Regions from separate parts of the Homo sapiens genome. Here all the other regions are linked to region 1. The links are contacts of gene promoters, found by promoter capture Hi-C in blood cells and fetal thymus (Javierre and others, 2016). All regions are on one chromosome and are shown on one strand. The core of a region is centred on a gene start or on the middle of the fragment in contact, and the rest is flanking DNA. Distances in the headings are between cores, read along the strand shown.

What was found. Contacts are between HindIII fragments. The CHiCAGO score rates a contact against its expected background, and 5 or more counts as called.
Region 2: a contact is called between a fragment that was not itself captured here and the fragment with the promoter of THAP11 in region 1, in 3 of 17 cell types (total B cells, neutrophils and naive CD4 T cells). The highest score is 5.8, in total B cells.
Region 3: a contact is called between a fragment that was not itself captured here and the fragment with the promoter of THAP11 in region 1, in 1 of 17 cell types (naive B cells). The highest score is 5.5, in naive B cells.
Region 4: a contact is called between a fragment that was not itself captured here and the fragment with the promoter of THAP11 in region 1, in 4 of 17 cell types (erythroblasts, endothelial precursors, neutrophils and 1 more). The highest score is 6.0, in erythroblasts.

Annotation. Positions count from the first base shown.
Region 1 is chr16:67,840,910-67,843,716 of GRCh38, forward strand. THAP11 (THAP domain containing 11) reads left to right here and starts at 1,411. Exons shown (of 1, transcript NM_020457.3): 1 at 1,411-2,807. The coding sequence starts at 1,646. The coding sequence ends at 2,590. All of the region lies in intron 1 of CENPT (centromere protein T), which reads right to left. RefSeq lists enhancers at 1,125-1,174, 1,627-2,373, 2,085-2,244, 2,685-2,734 and a silencer at 1,425-1,604. The HindIII fragment of the contact is 11,152 bases long and covers 574-2,807 here.
Region 2 is chr16:68,072,382-68,075,188 of GRCh38, forward strand. It overlaps DUS2 (dihydrouridine synthase 2), which reads left to right. Exons shown (of 17, transcript NM_017803.5): 13 at 1,653-1,774. Among named protein-coding and RNA genes, the nearest start is that of NFATC3, 12 kb to the right of the region's middle. The HindIII fragment of the contact is 1,112 bases long and covers 829-1,940 here.
Region 3 is chr16:68,051,300-68,054,106 of GRCh38, forward strand. DUS2 (dihydrouridine synthase 2) reads left to right here. Exons shown (of 17, transcript NM_017803.5): 5 at 2,265-2,356. Among named protein-coding and RNA genes, the nearest start is that of DUS2, 29 kb to the left of the region's middle. The HindIII fragment of the contact is 1,675 bases long and covers 495-2,169 here.
Region 4 is chr16:67,680,281-67,683,087 of GRCh38, forward strand. The region is part of intron 2 of GFOD2 (Gfo/Idh/MocA-like oxidoreductase domain containing 2); the gene reads right to left. Among named protein-coding and RNA genes, the nearest start is that of C16orf86, 15 kb to the left of the region's middle. The HindIII fragment of the contact is 1,643 bases long and covers 626-2,268 here.

The sequences.
Region 1 (2,807 bases), core at 161-2,660:
AGCACTTTGGGAGGCCGAGGCGAGCAGATTGCCTGAGCTCACGAGTTCGAGACCAGCCTGAGAAACATGGCGAAACCCCGTCTCTACTAAATACAAAATACATATATATATATATATATATATATATATATATATATTAGCCGGGCATGGTGGCATGCGCCTGTAGTCCCAGCTACTCCGGAGGCTGAGGCAGGAGAATTGCTTGAACCCAGGAGGCGGAGGTTGCGGTGAGCCGAGATCTCACCATTGCACTCCAGTCTGGCGACACAGTGAGACTCCTTTACAAAAAAAAAAAAAAAAAAAAAAAAAAAAGATTCCCTCAAATAAGTTGAGGTGGGGGGAGGTGTATTGTTACAATGCAAATCCTTTCCCATAAAATCCTTTAATAGCTCTCAGTGGCCTGCAGAATAAAACCCCAAATCCTTAACATGTCCCAGTTTGGTATTTTCCTACGCTTGGCCCTACCCGGGCCACCCCTTTCCAGGCTCTTTAATGGCGGAGCCTAGCTCTTTTCTGCCATGTGGCCTTACAGACTGGTTCCTGGGACAAGAATTGGCTACTTCTCCCTACCCAAGCTTTCGTTCGTTTTTTTATTCCTGGCCCCCACCACCTCCCCCCCATTTCTCTGCTCTCCTGTTAATTCCTTTGGAGCGATTACTATTTGTGAGTAGACATCCATTCGCGTGCATTCAGATCTATTATCCAAAAGACAGACGCTTATCCGTCTAGGTAGTCAGGCTCCAAGAGAGGAGCCCAGTCGGTCTGACTCCCGCAAACTCCCGGCACCGTGTCAGCCACATAGTAGGCGTCTACTGGAGACTTTGTTTAGATCAGTTAGTCAACGCAGGCAGCAGCTGAATCAGGAGAGAGTCCCCAACGCAAAGAAAGGGGCTCCTGAGACCCTTCGGGGCGCCGAGGCCCAGGTTTCGTCTCCCTCTGCTGCAGCAATGCCGTCGACTCAAAGGGGCTCGGGGCTGGGGAACTGGTTCTGGCAAACAGCACAACCTCGCCCGAATCCTGGTCCGCAGTAACTCGATCTTTCCCTTAGGCGGCGCTTCGGAGGGAAGGCGCCTAGTTCAGCGCGAGGCATCACGGGATTTGTAGTCTCCGTGGGCATATACCCACCGCGCTTGCGCACCGGTGAGGCGCGCACCGCCCCGCTCCACGCCCCTATCAGGATTCGGGTCCTCGTGAGGAGCAGTCCAGGCGACAGCGTTCCAACCTAATACGCCTCTCTCGCCCGCCGGGGACAAGACGGGCTGGGGAAAGAATCTGCTCTTCGGAGGCTATCGCAGTGCCTTGGAAGGCGGCAGGAATCCGCACACACCCGCCCCGGAAGTGAGCCGCTTCTGGCGCGGGGCATTGTGGGGGGCGTAGTCTCTTTCTCAGGCGGTCCTTCGCGGCGTCCCCGGGGCCCACTCCCGAGCGCAGGCGGGCAGCCAGGCGGGCGGCGCGGCGCGGGCCGGCAGGAAGCGTATTCTGGGCACGGGGCGCCGGGCGGGCCGGCTGCGCCGAGCGGCAGTGGTGGGATACCACCCAAGGCCTCGCGCGGCGCCGCCCGTCGAGGGGCGGGCGGCGGCGTAGCCACTGGGCCGTCGAAGAGCGCAGGAGGCCGGTGGGCCGGGCCGGGCCGCGCGGCGCAGCCATGCCTGGCTTTACGTGCTGCGTGCCAGGCTGCTACAACAACTCGCACCGGGACAAGGCGCTGCACTTCTACACGTTTCCAAAGGACGCTGAGTTGCGGCGCCTCTGGCTCAAGAACGTGTCGCGTGCCGGCGTCAGTGGGTGCTTCTCCACCTTCCAGCCCACCACAGGCCACCGTCTCTGCAGCGTTCACTTCCAGGGCGGCCGCAAGACCTACACGGTACGCGTCCCCACCATCTTCCCGCTGCGCGGCGTCAATGAGCGCAAAGTAGCGCGCAGACCCGCTGGGGCCGCGGCCGCCCGCCGCAGGCAGCAGCAGCAACAGCAGCAGCAGCAGCAACAGCAGCAACAGCAGCAGCAGCAGCAACAGCAGCAGCAGCAGCAGCAGCAGCAGCAGTCCTCACCCTCTGCCTCCACTGCCCAGACTGCCCAGCTGCAGCCGAACCTGGTATCTGCTTCCGCGGCCGTGCTTCTCACCCTTCAGGCCACTGTAGACAGCAGTCAGGCTCCGGGATCCGTACAGCCGGCGCCCATCACTCCCACTGGAGAAGACGTGAAGCCCATCGATCTCACAGTGCAAGTGGAGTTTGCAGCCGCAGAGGGCGCAGCCGCTGCGGCCGCCGCGTCGGAGTTACAGGCTGCTACCGCAGGGCTGGAGGCTGCCGAGTGCCCTATGGGCCCCCAGTTGGTGGTGGTAGGGGAAGAGGGCTTCCCTGATACTGGCTCCGACCATTCGTACTCCTTGTCGTCAGGCACCACGGAGGAGGAGCTCCTGCGCAAGCTGAATGAGCAGCGGGACATCCTGGCTCTGATGGAAGTGAAGATGAAAGAGATGAAAGGCAGCATTCGCCACCTGCGTCTCACTGAGGCCAAGCTGCGCGAAGAACTGCGTGAGAAGGATCGGCTGCTTGCCATGGCTGTCATCCGCAAGAAGCACGGAATGTGAACTGGTGCCCCGGCAGCCTGCTGGACTCCCAGACCCCATCCAGCCAGGGGACCGCAGGCCATTGTTGAACTCCTCTATACTCCTGGGCACTGGTTGACAGTACTGAGGCTTAAGGCAGCTGGACTCTCTTGCTGGTGACCTGGCATCCTCAATTGTTTCCTCCTGAAGTGGAAGCTGGGGCCTTAGACTCTGCCCTGGTGACACCAGCAATTATGAC
Region 2 (2,807 bases), core at 135-2,634, 230 kb after region 1:
AGCTGGCAAGTCTGGCCAAGAAGACGTGCTGAACAGTGCTGAGCTTGCTCACTGGGTGAAAGGTGATATTATCATTCCTGCTGAGCCATCTCTTGGCAGCTCCTCAAGAGGGTGTGCTATCACAGAGAAAGGGAGCGGCTTTCAAGCATAGGCAGGGCTGCTTCTGGTCCAGCCAGGTGCCTTCTTCCCAGACAAGCTGAGTCAAGGACTTGCCACCAGCCGGGGCGCCCCGACTTACTTCCCACTTTGTCCTGAGCGTGCCGTGGCACTTTCCCAGCCACTGAAGTCATAGGCCCACGTGGAGTTACTAGAGCAGCATAGGGGGTGGGGGATGGGAGGGTGTCCTGGAGGGCTGGGGAAGGCCACCTTCACCCAATACTGCTCTCCTGCCCTACCTCTAGCCAGCCGACTTCCACTGGGTGTCCCAGGCAGTCAGTCATCTTGCCTCCCTGAGCCTTCATTTCACGGTCTGTGGAGTGATGGTGACAGTTGCACCTCACACTTGTATAGATAAATGTAGTCATGAGTAACCCATGTGAACTAAATGATGCTGTGTTTTACCCACGTAGGGGGAAGTTAGAGGCTATTCAAGATGTGGGAAGGGAAGGTGCCCATTCTGGTTAGAAGGAATAGAAGAATCTCACCCCTTTCCTGGCACTGGACCTGCCATGCCAGAATTTGGTGTGTTTCCCCTCCCTTCCCTGGAAGATACTTGGCAGTAGGTCCTCTGTGGTGGCTGAAGCAGGAAGGGGCTCCCGCACTTCGAGACCTCAGTCAGGCTGTCCAGGAGAATGTGTTTCTGACCGTGGTCCTTGGCTGTGACCCTCAAGCTTTGTACCACTAGCTGGAAGAGTAGATGACCAAGGTCGAAGTGGCTTTTTAATTTATTTTTATTTTTATTTTTAATTTTAGATAGGGTCTCAGTCTGTTGCCCAGGCTGGAGTGCAGTGGCATGATCATAGCTCACTACAGCCACAACTCCTGGGTGCAAGCAATCCTCTTGCCTTAGCCTCCCTAGTAGCTATGGCTACAGGTGTGTGCCAACATGCCTGGCTAATTTTCTTTTTCTTTTTTTTTTTTTTTTTGAGACAGAGTTTTGCTGTTGTCGCCCAGGCTGGAGTGCAGTGGCACGATCTTGGCTCACCGCAACCTTCGCCTCCAGGGTTCAAGCGATTCTCTTGCCTCAGCCTCCCGAGTAGCTGGGATTACAGGCACCCGCCACCACGCCCAGCTAATTTTGTATTTTTAGTAGAGACGGGGCTTCACCATGTTGGTCAGGCTGGTCTTGAACTCCTGACCTCAGGTGATCCGCCCGCCTTGGCCTCCCAAGGTGCTGTGATTACAGGCGTGAGCCACCGTGCCCAGCCGATAATTTTCTTTTTTTTAATTTTTGTAGAGTTGAGTCTTACGTTGCCCAGGCTGCTCTTGAACTCCTAGCCTCAAGCAGTCCTCCTGCATTGGCCTCTCAGAGTGCTGGGATTACAGATGTGAGCCACTGCTCCTGGCCAGTGGTGGTTCTTCTTATGGGGGTCACATTGCCTTGGCTACACATACATCTCTGGTGCCTTCTTGGAGCTCCTTTCCCTGCCATCAGAGCATAGCCCAGGCCTTAGAGCCTGCCTGGGCATCAGGCAAGTCATTTCTTTTCTCAGGCGGTGCAGTATGACAACCACTACACCAACACCAAGTACTGCTTGTGCCAGATGCTACGAGAACAGCTGGAGTCGCCCCAGGGAAGGTTGCTCCATGCTGCCCAGTCTTCCCGGGAAATTTGGTAAGAGGCACAATAAGATGTCCATCTGTCCTTGTACGCATTGCCCAAGTTTGACTTTGAGCCCTAAGCTGACTCCACCAGGGGACCAGGGACACAGCTTCTGGATGTAGATGTAGAGGAGTGGAGTGATGGTACAGCTTTGCCTCCCAGGAGGGGATTCTTTGAAAGCTTTGAAACGTCCCATCCCTGGACGGATCAGCAGAGCTCTGGGAACTAGGGTACTAGAAGGATAGAGGAATGCAAAGGAAGGGGATTTTCCATAAATGGGATAGTCACAGGCCAGGCCCCCAGGAACCAGTGGTCAGGAGAATTGGGCTGTAGCATGGAGCCTCTACCTTGAGCCTGCACTCACATCCATCACCCTGCAGTTTGAGAGACCACCTGTTGATTCTCTAGATCAGGTGCAGCTCTAGCTCAGATGGTTGACAGTTGAGGCCCTTCACAAGCTGGCCTAGCCACTGCCCCCACAGCTCCCTGTCTACCTGTCTGCTTCCAGAACTCCACACCTGTGCTTGTAATGGGTCGTCTGCCTGGAAGGCTCTCTCCCTCTCACGTGAGCTATCTGTAGCCTCCCTCTTACATAGATGCCTTTCTGAACCACTTTTGCCATTGGGGATCTATCTTCGTTTGAGTCTTCCAGCCTTCAAGATGTTTCCTAGAAGGGAAAAACCTTTGCCAGAGCCCTCTTCCCACCCTTGGCTTATGGCATTGGTTCAGTCCCTACCCCACATAACTCTGTAGCTCTGGGTGGTGCCTCAGTGTCAGCTGAGACCCATGTATAACTGCCTGTGGCTGGGCGGGAAGTGGGGAACCACTTAGTGGTCAGGCCTCTGTCTCTTCCTCCCATGGGCCCATGTGCTTGATCAGCATTGGTTAACTCAGTCACGGCTGGCTGGGGATACCATCTGTGTGCTTCCCCTCAGGAGAGAGGCTGCAGGTGGTGGGGGTGACCTTTACAACCTTTGCCACCCAGCCCAGCCTCCCTCCAGTGTCCACGCTTGGGTTCACATTCACTTTCCATCTTCCAGTCCAC
Region 3 (2,807 bases), core at 82-2,581, 210 kb after region 1:
GTAAACAAAGGGTTAGGTTTGTGCAAGCCTCTGGTCATATTTTCATCAACTTGTCAGTCCATAACTTTGTTTTATGTGTGTTTCTTTGTTTTTGTTTGGTTTCTTTTTTGTGACCAGGTCTCACTCTGTTGCTCAGGCTGGAGTGTACTGGTGTGACCATAGCTCGCTGCAGCCTCAAACTCCTGGGCTCAAATGATCATCCTGCCTCAGCCTTCCAAGTAGCTGGGATTTCAGGTGCACACCTCCATGCCCAGCCAATTTTTAAATTTTTTGTAGAGATGGGGGTCTTGCTATGTTCCCCAGCTGGTCTCAAACTCCTGGCCTCAAGTGATCCCCCTGCCTCAGCCTCCCAAAATACTGGGATTACAGGACTTAGCCATCACACTGGCCATGTGTTTCTGTTTAAAGGCATATTATTTAATATATACCATTGATTCACTTAACATTGAACCCACTAACATGGGTAATAGTGCTATAATTTCATGCCGAAACAAAGCTTATTCAAGATGTGTATTTTCTCTGTAAGTCCCATGACCGTTTTCTTGTGCTTAGGAACATTAGATAGCATTTCAGCAGTATGGTTGGGACCATTTTATTTTATTTATTTTATATTTTTTGAGATGGAATCTTACTCTGTAGCCCAAGCTAGAGTGCAGTGGCGTGATCTTGGCTCACTGCAACCTCCGCCTTCCCGGCTCAAGAGATTCTTGTGCCTCAGCCTTCCAAGTAGTGGGGACTACAGGTGTGTGCCACCACACCCAGCTAATTTTTTTTTTTGTATTTTAGTAGAGACTTGAGTTTCACCATGTTGCCCAGGGTGGTCTCGAACTCCCTAACCTCAGGTAACCCACCCGCCTCGGCCTCCCAAAGTGCTGGGATTACAGGTGTGAGCCACCGCACCCAGCCACTTGGGACCATTTTAAACAGTGAGATCACCAACAAAAAGCATAGACATGCAGAAATGTGGCATGAAATATACCACAAAAGGGACACTTGTTGACAGTATGAGAGCTGAAGGGAGAAGACAGAGCATCACCTTGTTTGACCTCAGCTGGGAACATGCACATCAGGCAACTCAAAACTTTCACCACTCTGTTCCTGTCCTTGGATGACCATGAAAACATCACAAGTATTGATTTTGGGGTCACAAATAAATGTTAGCAAATAGGCACATTTGCAAATATGCAACTATGAATAGTATAGGAGATTGATTGTTATATAGTAACCTTCCACTCATAGCACCTGTCTCACTGTAAGTAAATAGTAAATTTGCTGAACTTCAGAGTGATGTTTTCTGGGAAAATTTGGGCCAAATCTGAAACATAGACAAACTTCCATGTATGGACTTTTTTTTTTTTTTTGAGACAGAGCCTCCCTCTGTTGCCCAGGCTGGAGTGCAGTGGCGCGATCTCAGCTCACTGCAATCTCTGCCTCCCAGGTTCAAGAGATTGTGCTGCCTCAGCCTCTTGAGTAGCTGGTATTACAGGCACCCTCCACCACGCCCAGCTAATTTTTGTATTTTTAGTAGAGATGCGGTTTTGCCATGTTGTGTAGGCTGGTTTCAAACTCCTAACCTCACATGATCCACCTGCCTTGGCCTTCCAAAGTCCTAGGATTACAAGCGTGAGCCACTGCGCCCGGCTATGTATGTACATTTTGTTTCAACATTTTTTTTTTTTTCGAGACGGAGTCTTGCTCTGTCGCCCAGGCTGGAGTGCAATGGCGCGATCTCGGCTCGCTGCAACCTCCGCCTCCCAGATTCAAGCGATTCTCCTGCCTCAGCCTCTCGAGTAGCTAGGGTTACAGGCATACCCCACCACGCCTGGCTAATTTTTGTATTCTTATCAGAGACGGTGTTTCACCATGTTGGCCAGGCTGGTCTTGAACTCTTGACCTCATGATCCGCCCGCCTCGGCCTCCCAAGGTGCTGGGATTACAGGCGTAAGCCACCATACCCGGCCCGGTTTTAACATTTTAAACGTTGCAAAATGTTAACCACCATTCAGAAAAAGTGCATTAAACACAAACATGCAGTTTCACAAGTAATTGCAAAATGAACAACCATCACCCAGGTCAGGAAATAGACCATCCTCATCATCACAGAAGCCTCCCATGTGCATAGTTATTTTTGGTAAGAATGGTATACATTTAGGATCTCTTTCCCCTTGAAGCTTATACTCTGGCTGTGTTTTCTTCCAGGGCTTAGGCTAGCGTTGAACTTGCATCTTCATTGAGTGACCCTATGTGTTTGGGTTTTCTTGCAGAGGTGCTCAGCACAGTGGACTTTGTCGCCCCTGATGATCGAGTTGTCTTCCGCACCTGTGAAAGAGAGCAGAACAGGGTGGTCTTCCAGATGGTGAGAGACTCCATTGCTGCATGCCCTCCTGAGGCTCACCATCCCCTGGGATTTCCCAACTCATGCCCTGTGCCAGGCCAGTGTTGAATACCTGGGGTACATTGTACAACGATGGCTTCCTGAAGATTCTGCTTTAATGTTTTCCAAAGAGCCAGTCATGAGTAATTATACTATTGGAGACAGTTTATGGAAATCAAGCTATCACAGTCTTATATGTCTCTAGTCTCAAATTTAATTTACTTACTTGTAGGAATTGTCTGTTTGGCATGATTTCTCTATTTTTTTATCCCTAGCATTGATTACTCAGATCATAGTCTTTGTTTTTATGTAGTGTGTATATATTTCTCATAGAAAAATATTAGGATTTTTCAAGAGTAGTTAAGATTTGTATTTGAGTTGTGATGACTCTATAGTGCCCTTCTCTCGCTTTGGGCATTTCTTGGTGCTTTTT
Region 4 (2,807 bases), core at 197-2,696, 160 kb before region 1:
GTCCCAGATACACAAGAGGCTAGGGTGGAAGAATCACTTGAGTCCAGGAGTTAGAGGCTGCGGTGAGCTATGATCAAGCCACTGTACTCCAGCGTGGATGACACAGCAAGACTCTGTCTCAAAAAATAAATAAAATCAAAACGAATACAGAGGAGTTGTTTTATCATACGTACTGTTTATTAGGCCTCTCCGAGAGTCAGGCCCAGCCTGGCCCCCTGGTAGCTCACATACTGACCAAGCCCACAGGAGACAAATTGGTGCCTCTGGTCAACCCTTCCCCCTCCTCTCACTTCCTACCCCCACCTCTGCCACCTTGACCCTGAAGAACCCCACAGAGCATCTGTCATTTGTACTTATGGGCATCTTACGTAGGTCTAAACTCCCAGGATTACAAACCTCAGTGCTGCAGCAAGGAACAAGGCATGTGGATTGGTAGTCTATGACATCATTCAATCTCTTCAATTTATTTATTTATTTTTTTAATACATATTTTGTTATTATACTTTAAGTTCTAGGGTACATGTGCACAACGTGCAGGTTTGTTACATATGTATACATGTGCCGTGTTGGTGTGAATCTCTTCAATTTATGACACTTCAATCTCCTGCTCTTCTTTAATAAAAGAAGCTTTACAACAGGTACTAGCAGGACAATAAAGAACAGCCAGCCAAGTGTCACATACCTGGGATAGGGTGGCCAGGCCCTTGCACGGGGCCCGGCAGGGAGAGTAGCCCCTGACTGCTAGCACTACTGCTTCTGGAGGGTCTCCAGTGCTTCTCCACACTTGTGGGCCTTCCAGATTAGGGAAGACAATCACAGTTCTGGGGGTGAATTTTGCCATTTGGCTGCTGAACACATATGGCTGACCAGGGAGGGATGTAATGAGGAAATGAGGTTCTCAGACACCCCACCTGAGAGCTGCTGTTCTGGCCAATTCAGAAGCCTCCTGCTATAATGCCTCGCTGCTGGCGACAGAGTGGATACTGCAGTGTGAGGCAGAGAGGAGGTGGGTTTAGAGGAAAAAGGACTTTTATGACTGCTAGGAGTTTGGTGGTGATAAAACTAGGATAAGGAATTCCTGTTTCATGCCTCAAGAGGTGAGGAAAGAGGGAAAGACCTCTCTTCTTGAATCTGAAAAATAGTCTGTTTTTGTTTTTTTAGATGGGGACTCGCTTTGTTACCCAGTGGTATAATCTTGGCTCATTGCAACCTCCGCTTCCTGGGCTCAAGCTAACCTCCCACCTCAGCCTCCCAAGTAGCTGGGACCACAGGTGCACGCCACTGTGCCCAGCTAATTTTTTGTATTTTTGGTAGAGATGGGATTTCATCATGTTGCTCAGGCTGGTATTTAACTCCTGAGTTCAAGCGATCTGCCCACCTTGGCCTCCCAAAGTGCTGGATTAGAGGTGTGAGGCACTGAGCCCAACCCTGAATAACAGCACTCTTAAACTTAGGGCTCAGTAGTATCAGTGTGGGACTGCAAGGACATCTTGACTTAAACAGGCTCCTGAGGGCTAGCTGTACAGAGTCTTTGGGTAGCCATGAAAGACATGTCTACCTGAGTTTATCTAGCTCTCCTGCCAGGAAGTCAAGGGAGAGATTGGAGAAGCTGAAATCTGCTGGGCACAGTGGCTCCCACCTATAATTCCAGCACTTTGGGGGGCCAAAGTAGGATGATTGCCTGAGGTTAGGAGTTCGAAACCAGCTTGAACAACACAGCAAGATCCTGTCTCTACAAAAATGTTTTCTTTTTACTTTTCTTTTCTTTTTTTTTTGAGATGGAGTCTCGCTCTGTCACCCAGACTGGAGTGCAGTGGCGTGATCTCGGCTCACTGCAACCTCCATCTCCTGGGTTCAAGCAATTCTCCTGCCTCAGCCTCCTGAGTAGCTGGGACTATAGGCACGTGCCAACACGCCCAGCTAATTTTTGTGTTTTTAGTATAGACGAGGTTTCACCAGGTTGGTCAGGCTGGTCTCAAACTCCTGACCTTGTGATCCGCCCGCCTCGGCCTCCCAAAGTGCTGGGATTACATGCATGAGCCACCAAGCCTGGCCTGCAAACTTAGTGTTTTTCTAATGAACCACAGAAGTGCCAAGAATTGGGCACAGAAGCCCACCTTTTAGTGACAGACTTAAGAAAACATTCAACTGTGGCAAAGATGCTAGGGGCACCTTGCACTTAAAATATAATTTCCTGAACCACTTCTGAACTGAAGAATAAAATATATTAGGGCCCTTCCCCTCTCCCCTTTAAGAAATTCATGGGAAAGCTTTAAGGATGAAATCGGAGGTAGAAGATGAAGAACATAGGTCAGACCAAAGCAGAAAACAAGATGCCATAAAAAGAGCTGTGATATGAAAAGTATTATCTCTGGAAGGTTAAGTCCAATCATTAATTTTAGGAAAAACTAATAATGAGGGCAAGAAATGATCTCGTGGCCTTAGAAGTAAGGTAAAAATATAAAGCTCTAGCAAGGAGAGAAAAATCACAGCACGAAGACTTGGTGAAATGTAACCAAGATGTCATTCCTTAATGCTCCTGGGCCTCAGTTTAATTCAAAATGATTGGATCAGTGGCTCTCAATCCTTCATGTCCACCAGAGTCACCTGCAAGGCTTGTTCAGACACAGATAGCTGGATCCCAGAGATTCAGTAGGTTTGGAGTGGGGCCTGAGAATTTAGATTTCTTTTTGTTTGTTTGCTTTTGAGACAGTCTTACTCTGTCACTCAAGCTGGAGTGCATGATCACTGCTCACTGCAGCCTCTATCTCCTGGGCTCAAGCGATCCTTCTGCCTCAGCCTCCCAA